Regions from separate parts of the Homo sapiens genome. Here region 1 is linked to region 2. The links are contacts of gene promoters, found by promoter capture Hi-C in human tissues and cell types (Jung and others, 2019). All regions are on one chromosome and are shown on one strand. Each heading gives the region's core, a stretch centred on a gene start or on the middle of the fragment in contact. The rest is flanking DNA. Distances are from core to core; before and after follow the strand shown.

The links. The method cuts DNA at HindIII sites, captures the fragments that hold promoters and counts their contacts. A contact is called where the count stands out against the background at its distance.
Region 1: a fragment that was not itself captured here is called in contact with the fragment with the promoter of DCTN3 in region 2 in 3 of the 25 tissues and cell types used here (dorsolateral prefrontal cortex, lymphoblastoid cells and spleen).

Annotation. Positions count from the first base shown.
Region 1 is chr9:34,090,961-34,096,724 of GRCh38, reverse strand. It overlaps DCAF12 (DDB1 and CUL4 associated factor 12), which reads left to right. Exons shown (of 9, transcript NM_015397.4): 6 at 1-9; 7 at 3,277-3,439. Among named protein-coding and RNA genes, the nearest start is that of DCAF12, 33 kb to the left of the region's middle. The HindIII fragment of the contact is 6,258 bases long and covers 1-5,698 here.
Region 2 is chr9:34,618,360-34,624,297 of GRCh38, reverse strand. It overlaps DCTN3 (dynactin subunit 3), which reads left to right and starts at 3,803. Exons shown (of 7, transcript NM_007234.5): 1 at 3,803-3,929; 2 at 5,538-5,622. The coding sequence starts at 3,834. ARID3C (AT-rich interaction domain 3C) reads left to right here. Exons shown (of 8, transcript NM_001017363.4): 4 at 251-434; 5 at 584-873; 6 at 1,769-1,951; 7 at 2,189-2,278; 8 at 2,740-3,249. The coding sequence ends at 2,840. RefSeq lists an enhancer at 1-104. The HindIII fragment of the contact is 3,867 bases long and covers 3,734-5,938 here.

The sequences.
Region 1 (5,764 bases), core at 1,320-3,819, 530 kb after region 2:
CTATCTAAGGTGTGATGAACATGATTTTGTGGTTTTACCTAATAATTCACCTTACAGTTAAAATACTGTAATTCTAGCTGAGCTTTTTTTTCATGTTTATTTTATCTATTCATTTATTTTTGAGGCAGAGTCTCGCTCTGATGCCCAGGCTGGAGTGCAGTGGTGCAATCTTGGCTCACTGCAACCTCTGCCTCCTGGGTTCAACCAGTTCTTGTGCCTCAGCCACCTGAGTAGCTGCGGGGATTACAGGCGTCTGCCAACATGCCCAGGTATTTTTTTTGTATTTTTAGTAGGAACACAGTCTCACCATGTTGGCCAGGTTGGTATTTTTATTTTTAAAGACAATAAATACAGGGTCTCACTCTGTCACCCAAGTTGGAGTGCAGTCATGGCTCATGGATCAGTGCAGCCTTGAACTCCTGGGCATAAGCGATCCTCTTGCCTCAGCCTCCCAAGTAGCTGAGACTATGGGCATGTGTCACCACACCCATCTGGTTGTTTTTTTTGTTTTGTTTTGTTTTTTTAATTTTTTGTAGAGACAGAGTCTCACTATGTTTCCCAGGCTGGTTTTGAACTCCTGACCTCAAGCGATCCTCCCACCTTGGTCTCCCGAAGTGCTGGGCATTCAGGCATGAACCATTGCACCTGGTCTCAATTCTTGTTTAAAAGACCAGTTCTCCAAAGGCCTGGGCATGTTTTTGCACAGTACATGAAATTTTGAGTCTGGTGTGCCTCTCTTGCAGGAAAGTCTTTTAAAGAGTAAGACAGGGTGATTCTTTCCTATTGCATAAGCTTCCTGAGAGGCTCCTTTGACTAGCAGTCCTCCTCAACAATGCATTTAAGTATTTCTTTATAGATTGATGACTACTTGGCATGCTGTAAGGGAAGGAAATCCTGAGTGTTAGGAACCTTTGGCAATTGAAGATCGATCAAATTAAGATAAACCATCTCTGAAATAATCATGTAAGGTAATGAGAAAATAGACTTAATTTACAATACAAATTGGTCATCCCTAATCCAGAATGCTCCAAAATCCAGTTGGGCACAATACCTTAGGCCTGTAATCCCAACACTTTGGGAGGTTGAAGCAGGAGGATTGCTTGAGCCCAGGAGTTCAAAACTAGCCTGGGCAACACAGTAAGACCCTATCTCTGCAACAAAATTTAAAAATTAGCCATACATTGTGGCATATGCCTGTAGTCCCAGCTACTGGAGGGTAGCAGTGCTGAGGCAGGAGGACCACTTGAGCTGAGGAGGTCAAGGCTGCAGTGAGCCGTAATTTTGCCACTGCACTCCAGCCTGGGTGACAGAGCGAGACCCTATCTCAAAAAAAAAAAAAAAAAAAAAAAAAAGGCCTGGCGCGGTGGTTCACGCCTATAATCCCAGCACTTTGGGAGGCCGAGGCAGGTGGATCATGAGGTCAAGAGATTGAGACCATGCTGGCCAACATGGCGAAACCCCGTCTCTACTAAAAATACAAAAATTAGCTGGGCGTGGTGGTGGGCGTCTGTAGTCCCAGATACTTGGGAGGCTGAGGCAGGAGAATCGCTTGAACCCAGGAGGCAGAGGTTGCAGTGAGCCGAGATCATGCCACTGCACTCCAGCCTGGCAACAGAGCAAGACTCTCTCTCAAAAAAAAAAGCCTCCAAAGTCCAAAACTTTTTGAGCACCAACACAATGCCACAAATGGAAAATTTCACATGGGACACCTTTGCTTTCTGACAGGTCAGTGTACCAAACATTGTTTAATGCAGAAAATTATTTAAAATATTGCATAAAATTACCTTCACTCTATGTGTATAAGATGTATATGAAACATAAATGAATTTTGTGGTTAGACTTGGGTGCCATCCCCAAGATAGCTCCTTACATATATGTAGATATTTAAAAATCGGGGCCGGGTGCGGTGGCTCACGCCTATAATCCCAGCACTTTGGGAGGCCAAGGTGGGCGGATCGCAAGGTCAGGAGATTGAGACCATCCTGGCTAACATGGTGAAACCCCGTCTCTACTAAAAATACAAAAAATTAGCCGGGCGTGGTGGTGGGCGCTTGTAGTCCCAGCTACCCGGGAAGCTGAGGCAGGAGAATGGTGTGAACCCAGGAGGTGGAGCTTGCAGTGAGCTGAGATCGCGCCACTGTACTCCAGCCTGGGCGACAGTGCGAGACTCCGTCTCAAAAAAAAAAAAAAAAAGCTGGAGAAATCCGAAATTCAAAACATTTGTAGTCACAAGCCTTTTGGATAAGGGAGATTCAACAAGCAACTTTTACATAGAGTTAAACCTACCTGTGAATCATTTGTCTTTTTTTTATTTTTTTTGAGACAGAGTCTCACTTTGTTGCCCAGGCTAGAATGCAGTGGCACGATCTCAGCTCACTGCAACCTCCGCCTCCCAGGTTCAAGTGATTCTCCTTCCTCAGCCTCCTGAGTAGCTGGGATTACAGGCATGCACCACTACCCCTAGCTAATTTTTGGTATTTTTAGTAGAGATGGCATCTCACCAGGTTGGCCAGCCTGGTCTCAAACTCCTGACCTCAGGTGATCTGCCTGCCTTAGCCTCCCAAAGTGCTGGGATTACAGACGTTAGCCACCACGCCCAGCTTTTTCTCTTCTTCTTATCCTTGAGGACTTTGCAAGAGGAAGCAGGGTTCCAGGAATTAGTGATTCCTTCATGTCACAATAGCCTTTGAGCTCCACTGACCTTGTATGCTGTCTTATGTGTTGTATGCACCCACTGAGGATTTGCTAACTGACGAAGACCCAGGGTTAAGGCTGATGTGGGTTATCTGGGATTAAGCTAGTCCCATGGGCGTGCTTTCTATAGCGTACAATTCCCATTCAGGTGGGAAGGTGAGCTGGGGGTAGCCAGAGATCAGCCTCTTTATCTGAAAAGCACTGAGGTGGCCCTTCCTGGCAGACAGAACAGAGTGGGACTATGGCTTTAGTGCCCTGGAACGATTCCCAGAAACAACCTGAATAGTTGAAACAGCCTACCAAGAAAGGCCTTGGCCTTTCCAGCTACTTCTGATTATTTATTCCAGATTTACCTTTTCCCCAACCTATCTCCTTCAGTATCTAGGTCTTACCGTTTATTAACATTCACCTCCTCTTTCTCCTGTATACCTAGGGGTGGAACAGAGTGTTATTTCTGTAATCAGGGCTTGATTTTATGTGGCTTTTATATGAGGGAAGCCCATCAAGGTGGGAGTCCAGAAACAATATCCCTGCCTTACCCTCTCTGCTGATGCCATGGTTATATCTCTCCTCTATTTTCAGCTCCTCTCCACCAAACTGCCATATTGCCGTGAGAATGTGTGTCTGGCTTATGGTAGTGAATGGTCAGTTTATGCAGTGGGCTCCCAAGCTCATGTCTCCTTCTTGGATCCACGGCAGCCATCATACAACGTCAAGTCTGTCTGTTCCAGGGAGCGAGGCAGTGGTAAGAGTCCCTGTGTGCACCTCAGGCCTACAGCTGCACTGCATATGGGTTCTGACTTTCAGTTTCTTTGTTGGTTTCCAAACAGGTATAGTGCTCTGTATGGAACATTTGGAAGTGTGTTCAAAAAGGGGAGCGATGGCTAGGCGTGGTGGCTTACGCCTGTAATCCCAGCACTTTGGGAGGCCGAGGCGGGTGGATCACCTGAGGTCGGGAGTTTGAGATCAGCCTGACCAATAAATATGGAGAAACCCCGTCTCTACTAAAAATACAAAATTAGCCGGGCGCAGTGGCGCATGCCTGTAATCCCAGCTGCTCAGGAGGCTGAGGCAGGAGAATTGCTTGAACCTGGGAGGCGGAGGTTGCGGTGAGCTGAGATCGCACCATTGCACTCCAGCCTGGGCAATGAGCGCGAAATTCTGTCTCAAAAAAAAAGGGGTGTGGGGGGAGTGACACAAAAGGGCACTAGACTTTCAAACACCACAGACAAATGTGTGGCCACAGAAGCCTTTGTTGGGAGCCACCAGTCAGGATATTAGTTAGTAGTTTCCATGTTCTTTTAGAAAGCTCTACTTTTTTTTTGTTGTTGTTGTTTTTTTTTTTTGAGACAGAGTCTCGCTCTTTTGCCAGGCTGGAGTGTAGTGGCGTGATCTCAGCTCACTGCAACCTCTGCCTTCTGAGTTCAAGTGATTCTCCTGCCTCAGCCTCGCGAGTAGGTGGGACTACAGGCACACACCACCACGCCCAGCTAATTTTTGTATTTTTAGTAGAGACGGGGTTTCACCATGTTGGCCAGGATGGCCTTGATCTCTTGACCTTGTGATCCACCCACCTCGGCCTTCCAAAGTGCTGAGATTACAGGCGTGAGCCACTGCACCTGGCCGAGAGCCCTACTTTCTATCCTGTGGTAATTTTTTTGCTGTGGTCCTGCCTGAACTAAAATTCTATTTATGCTAAGATGTGGCATGGTGGGATAAGGAGGAAGTTTACAAAGGGCATGAGGAAACCTCAGGGTAATGAGTATGTTCATTATGTAGATTGTGGTTATGATGTCATGGATATATACATATGTCAGAACCTCAAATTGTATACTTTATGTGTCGTATATTGTATGACAAACCTCAATAAGGCTGAAGAAAATACTGAGTTTAGTTCTGACCACTGAGTAAATTAAGCTTCCACCTCAAATCTTTTATAACATATTCTCTGTAAGAGCACCCTCATTCTTTATTGAAGAGGGAAAAAATACTTATTTTAGTGTACTTTGAAGGTTTCAAAATACCTTTTTCTGACATGCCATTTCATCATACCAAGAACCCTGTGGGAAGCAGATGAGAAAACATAGTTTTACATATAAGACCTAGAGCCAGCTAAATAACTTGCCCAGCATCACACAGCTTGATGGGGGAACAGCTAGGGACCAGAATCCAACTTAACAAATTGTATTTTCTTTATCTCACTTTATCCCATTTCTCGCTTTATCCCATTTCTCATGCAAAAATATGGCTGTGTTATCCTGAGAGTCCTAAAAGGCACACTGTGGATTGCAGTTCACCCTCTCTTTTTCAAGTAGTGTTTATTCCTGTGCAGATACTGCAAAGTAGCTTTTGTTTTGGGTTTTTTGTGGTTTTTTTTTTTTTTTTTTTTTTGAAGACAGGGTCCTCACTCTATCAGCCAGGCTGGAGGAAAGTGGTGCAATCTCAGTTCACTGCAGCTTTTCCACCTGCCAGGCTCAAGCAGTCCTCCCACCTCAGCCTCCCGAGTAGCTGGGACTATAAGCGTCCGCCACCTCATTCAGCTAATTTTTGTATTTTTGTAGAGACAGGTTCTCATCATGTTGCCCAGAGTTGTCTCAAACTCTTGGGACACCCACCTCAGCCTCCCAAAGTGTGTGCTAAGATTACAGGGATTACAGCCGTGAGCCACTGTGCCCAGCTATTTCTTTTTTGTTGTTGTTGTTGTTGAGATGAGTCTTGCTCTGTCACCTAGGCTGGAGTGGAGTGGTGTGATCTCAGCTCACTGCACCCTCTGCCTCCCAGGTTCAAGCGATTCTCCTGCCTTAGCCTCCTGAGTAGCTGGGACTACAGGCGCGTACCACCATGCCCAGCTAATTTTTGTGTTTTTAGTAGAGATGGAGTTTCACCATGTTGGCCAGACTGGTTTTGAACTCCTGACCTCAAGTGATCCACTCACCTTGGGCCTCCCAAAGTACTGGGATTACAGGCTTGAGCCACCACGCCTGGCCTATTTGTTCTTAATTATAGTTAAAATGCTTACATTTTAGAACAAAGAATAATGTATAATGAGAGTAGTAGAGAAAGGAATAAA
Region 2 (5,938 bases), core at 2,554-5,053:
GGCTACAATGACAGCGTTGAGTAGTTGTGACAGAGACCATTTAGCCATCTGGCCTTTTACAGAACTTTGCCCCCCCCCGTTCTAGCCTCCTGTCCTTCTTGCTAAAACAGAGACCCTGGGGTTCTGTGGGCTCCGCCCAAGTCTCCCTCTTTCCCGCCCTCCCCGGGGCTCCCGTCCTGTATCAGTCCCTGGGGATGCTGCAGACAGGGTCTTCGTCTCAGTGTCCTGACGGCAGCCCGCTCCCCACCAGGGACGCCAGTGAACCGCGTGCCCATCATGGCGAAGCAGGTGCTCGACCTGTACGCTCTGTTTCGCCTGGTGACCGCCAAGGGCGGCCTGGTGGAAGTCATCAACCGCAAAGTGTGGCGGGAAGTCACGCGCGGCCTCAGCCTACCCACCACCATCACCTCGGCCGCCTTCACTCTACGCACCCAGTGAGGCCAGGGGCGGGAGCGGAAGGGAAGGGGGCACGGGTTCGGCCTGGGGCGGGAGGGGGGAGGGTCCCCGGGCGGGCGTCCGGCTGTGGGACTTGACCAGCTGGGTGCAGCCTCCCATACACTCACCGCCCGCTGTCCGCCCCTAGGTACATGAAGTACCTGTACCCGTACGAGTGCGAGACTCGAGCGCTCAGCTCCCCAGGGGAGCTCCAGGCCGCCATAGACAGCAATCGGCGCGAGGGCCGTCGCCAGGCTTACACCGCTACTCCGCTCTTCGGCTTGGCAGGGCCGCCCCCTCGGGGCGCTCAGGACCCAGCCTTGGGTCCCGGCCCCGCCCCTCCGGCGACCCAGTCCAGCCCTGGCCCAGCCCAGGGTTCCACCTCCGGCCTGCCAGCGCATGCATGCGCTCAGCTGAGTCCAAGCCCTATTAAGAAAGGTGCGAGGGGAGAATGGTAGAGGTTTCGGGGTCTCTGAGGTTTAGGTGGGCGCTAAGATATAGCAACCATTAAAATGTGAGGATTGAGGTCTGGGGAGGCATTGAGGTATGGGAGCAGTAAGGTCTGACGGGCTTCTGAGGTTTGGGGGTCACTAAGGTTTAGGGGTCCTGAGGTTTGCGGCCAAATGAGAGCTCTGGGGTACGGGTTACTGAAGTGTAGGGGCTGAAGTTCAGGAAAAGGTCCTTTTTTTTCTTTTTTTCTTTTTTTTTTTTTTTTGTGAGACGGAGTCTCGTTCCGTCGCCCAGGCTGGAGTGCAGTGGCGCGATCTCAGCTCACGGCAACCTCCGCCTCCCGGGTTCAAGCGATTCTCCTGCCTCAGCCTCCCGAGTAGCTGGGACTACAGGGGCCCGCCACCATGCCCGGCTAATTTTTGTATTTTTAGTAGAGACGGGGTTTCACCGTGTTAGCCAGGATGGTCTCGATCTCCTGACCACGTGATCCGCCCTCCTCCGCTTCCCAAAGTGTTGGGATTACAGGCTGAGTCACCGCGCCCGGCCAGGAAAAGGTCCTTTAATCACAGCAACTCCATTCCACACATGTCCACCCAGTGCTCCTATTTGCATATAGTTTGTGCCTCTTGTGACCTGGATTATTTAATAACCAACAGCCAAAAACAATCCCCCAAATTGTCTAGACATGTACCTTGATCCTTTGGGCTCTAGAGAAAAGCTTCAGCGCTTCCAGGCTGAGGCTCTGGATGGGAAGATAGATCGAATGAAGGATGAGAGATTGGTACATGAGCTTGAGTTACCTCTTTTGGTCCCAGGCCTGGGGGAGAACCAATGCAGAGATGGGTTGGTTTGGCCAGGGGAGCTGAATAACCTGTTCTTCTAGAGGAGAGTGGAATTCCAAACCCTTGTCTGGCACTGCCTGTGGGCCTGGCACTGGGACCTACACGGGAGAAATTGGCACCAGAGGAGCCCCCAGAGAAGAGAGCTGTGCTGATGGGGCCTATGGACCCACCTCGACCTTGCATGCCCCCCAGTTTCCTGCCCCGTGGCAAGGTTCCCCTGAGGGGTGAGGAGGGGCTTGTTGTGAGGGGGCTTCGGGACTGTACACTGAGGGAGGATTGACCCATCACCTGATAGGTGTTAGAGACGGGGCAGACAGATTCCTCTGTAGACAACTGTGTGAGTATAGGTGTGGGGCTGAAGTGGAATGGGGGCTGTCTACGGGGATGGAGGGGGGAAATTCTATTAATAAGTCAGAAGTCTGATTCTCCAAAATGTGATTCCTCTGCCCCCTCCTGGACAGAAGAGCGGCTGGATGGGCCTCTTAATCTGGCAGGCAGTGGCATCAGCAGTATCAACATGGCCCTAGAGATCAACGGGGTGGTCTACACTGGTATGGGTACTGCAGGCTGTCTACACTGGCATGGGGTCAGGGGTATTTAGGCTGGCATGGGGATTTTAGACTTCCTCTACTAGCATGAAGTTCAGGGATATCTAAACTTGCATGAGTAACATGGAGTTCAGGGGATTGCTAGACTGGCATGGGTTAAAGGGGGTGTCTACATGGCATGGGATCCAAGGCATGACCTCTCTGGCATGAGTACCAGGGGATGTCTGCCTTGTCTTGGGCCTATGTATCAGCATAAATATTCCTTGTTTACCTGTTTGAGGTATCTACATTAGCAATGGAGTCTCTTACTGACCCAAGGAGCTTGTCCTCATTGGTTTGTGGCAGGGGTACGTGTGTAGTGTTCTAGCAACCAGAACACTTACTTTTGTTCCCCTCTTCTGTTTCCATACCCTACCCCCTCCTGCTTGTTTTTGCCCTCTACCATCTCCTCACCCCTTTGCCAGGTGTCCTCTTTGCCCGCCGCCAGCCTGTGCCAGCTTCCCAGGGTCCAACCAACCCTGCACCCCCACCCTCCACAGGGCCCCCTTCCAGCATCTTGCCCTGAGAGGTCCTACTTGAAACTAAGAGTCCCAGCCCCATTGCTGAGGGGGGAGGAGACCCCCTGCTTTGATTCTTTCTGGCTGCCCACTCTGGGACCCAGCCCTGGGAGGGGACGACACCTCCCATGCCATGTGGACTTAAAACCAAAGTTTCTTTTGATGTTACACCTACCTCATTGTAAAGGGAGGGCACCTCCTCCCTGGCCAATTCCAGCAGCACCTACCAAAGGGTTCTTCCTCCAGTAACCCCATCATCTCCTCATGTGTTCCCTCTGTCAATGTCATCTCTAGGACCCTACCCTTTTGAGTCAGCCCTGCTTCTCTTCAGGAGCCAAGTGAAAGGTTGGGTTGGGGTACTGTGAAAGAGACATCCCTCAGGTCACATCTAGACAATAAAGCTGCGGTCCCTCCCTCTCTGATGCCTCCTTTCTTGTTTGGGTATGGGAGGTGGGGAGGAATGATGTGGAACATAGGCTGCCTTGGGCCAGGGGCTTTCAGAGGTTAAGGCAGAATAGCAAAGTTTCGTGAGAATAGAAGAGCTCCGTCTCTTGAATCAGACAGCCTGAGTTCAAGTCCTGTTTCTGTCCCTATAGTGCTGGGTGGCCTTGGGCAAGTTACTTAATCAACTGAACCTTAGAAGACTCCAAAAGTTTATGGTAACTCACGGAGCCTCCTAATGATGTATCTATGGGAATGGACCTATCCTGGAACACGTGCAAACTCAGGGAATGGCGTGGGGAAAGCTCTTTGGTACCCGAAAAGCAAAGGTTATCTTGACAACCAGGCACTGGAAGCCAGGGGAGGGATGGGACAGAGCCGTTGCCAAGGTAATCAGCTTTTGACAGCTCCGAGGAGTAACTTCCGGCACTGAAGGGCTGAATCATGGCGTCACTTCCTGCATAAAGGGCCGCTCGTGCACTCGGATTGGCTAGCCTTCTTATTTGGACTGACGTCCCGCCCTCTGGCTGTTTCCTGGCCGAGGTGGGTCGGTAGTAGCGATGGCGGGTCTGACTGACTTGCAGCGGCTACAGGCCCGAGTGGAAGAGCTGGAGCGCTGGGTGTACGGGCCGGGCGGGGCGCGCGGCTCACGGAAGGTGAGTAGTCTGGTCCGGTAGTCCCTTTCTGGAGCAGAGCAAGAGCGGTCCACTGTCCTGGCCCTCGGGATGCAACCGCTCCAGTCCTGTTCTCCGCAGCCCGGCCTTTGAAATAACAAAGGTCCGGGACCTCCCAGAGCTGATTGGACCATCGGGGTCCACTGTCATAGGGGGCTCTGCGGGTGGTTAAGCCAGCCTGAGAGTGGGCTCCGTACCTACTGTAGCTGAGACTCCGCCCTTGCCCTCGCGAGCTATAGTTGGGGAGACCTGACACGAGAAGCTGACTAATGAGAGTTTCAATAAGAGCTGAAGTCCACGATAGGAAGGCCCGTCATAGAGCCCTGCATAATTAATTGCTAAATGAATTGTGCAGGAAGAGGTCCATGGGACCCCTGGGGAGGCAGAGCAGAGGTGGATAAGGAAAACGCCAAAGGGTGAGAAGTGAGGTCTGAAAGGACCAGGATTAGGAAGGGAAGAGACTGGGTACTGGGTATTCAGATGTGGACTAGCACTGCTTTATACCAGTGACAGAATTTTGACAACTACGAAGCTCAGGTGCCCTCTCCTCCCCTTTCTACTATGGGAAGATCTTTTATTGAAGAACTTCTGATGGCGTGTCAGGCATGTCCTGGAGCTAAGTGCGTCCAAGGTAATGATGTCTGTTTGTACACTAAATGAGGAATTAGTTGTCACTAGCAGACTGTGCTCCCATTTCAGAACTAACTTCTCAAACATTCTCTTCCTTTGGGATCTATGACGCTGACCCTCCTGGTTTTCCTTCTACCTCTTACGGCTGCTTCTCAGTGTTATTTGCCTCCCCCCTGGCATTCCTCATCCTCTACCCTAAAAACTGGGTGAGTGCAGTCACTTCCTTAGTCTCCTCCTCTATTTGACCCTTTAATATTGGGATTCTTTACATTCTACCCCTAAACTTTAGGTAGGCTCACTCGCTTCCATGGTGTCAATTACTATTTACATGTCAATATGTCTCAAATGTATATCTCTGGTCCAGATTTCTGTTCTGAGAACCAGACTTTTATGTCTAGTTGTCTACTGGACTTTTCCACTTGGATATCCAATAGTCATTTCAAACTCAATCTGTATGCCCTTAACTGTACTCTTTCTCTCCCCTAACCTGATTCTCTTCTGTATTCCCTAATTCAGTGATTGCACCATCATTGGGATCCCAGTTGTTTGGACTCTTCCATCTCCCACACCAAATTTGATGTGGAGGGGATAGGGCTAGAGGTAGGCCAGCCAATCTAGAGGTCATGAAGGCTTGAATGAGGATGCTTGTGTTTCTCATGCCCAAACCCAGGACTTAGGAACCAGAAAATATATTGTGTATACTCTATATTCCATAGACTCTAAAATAGTTCGTTATCTTCCCCATCAGACTTGAAACTCCCCAAGGAGTACATGATTCTCTCTCTCCACTTTAAGGATTCCTGGAAGGTGGGGCTGCATCTCCTTTAATATTAGAGAAGGGAGGCCAACCTAGATTACTGGGATTCAGGTTTGAGAGTCTGGGAGAATGAGGGTTCTTTAACTTTTCCAAGCCTTGAGCCAGGTAGTATATCTTGGAATTAACCACCACTTCCCTTACAGGTGGCTGACGGCCTGGTCAAGGTGCAGGTGGCTTTGGGGAACATTTCCAGCAAGAGGGAGAGGGTGAAGATTCTCTACAAAAAGAGTAAGTGCTTCCATGATGTGCCTGCCTGCCCGACATCCCACCCCTCAGCTTCCTGGTACCTGGCCCTAGCCCTTCAGTTCATTAGGTCACTGGAATAGCCCTTTGGGGATAGAAAGATTATGAGGACATTTACCTACACCCAATTCAATTGGTAAATTGTGGTGTGCTTTTCTACCTTGTGGCTAAACCTCAAGCCCATGACAGTGTCCTAAGTTATGAAATAAGAGCTCTACCTGAAAGCTTCTCTTGGTGAAGGAGGGTAAAAAGGGTATGGGATTTCCCAGGCAAGGTTAAGGGGCAGGAAACAAATTAGACA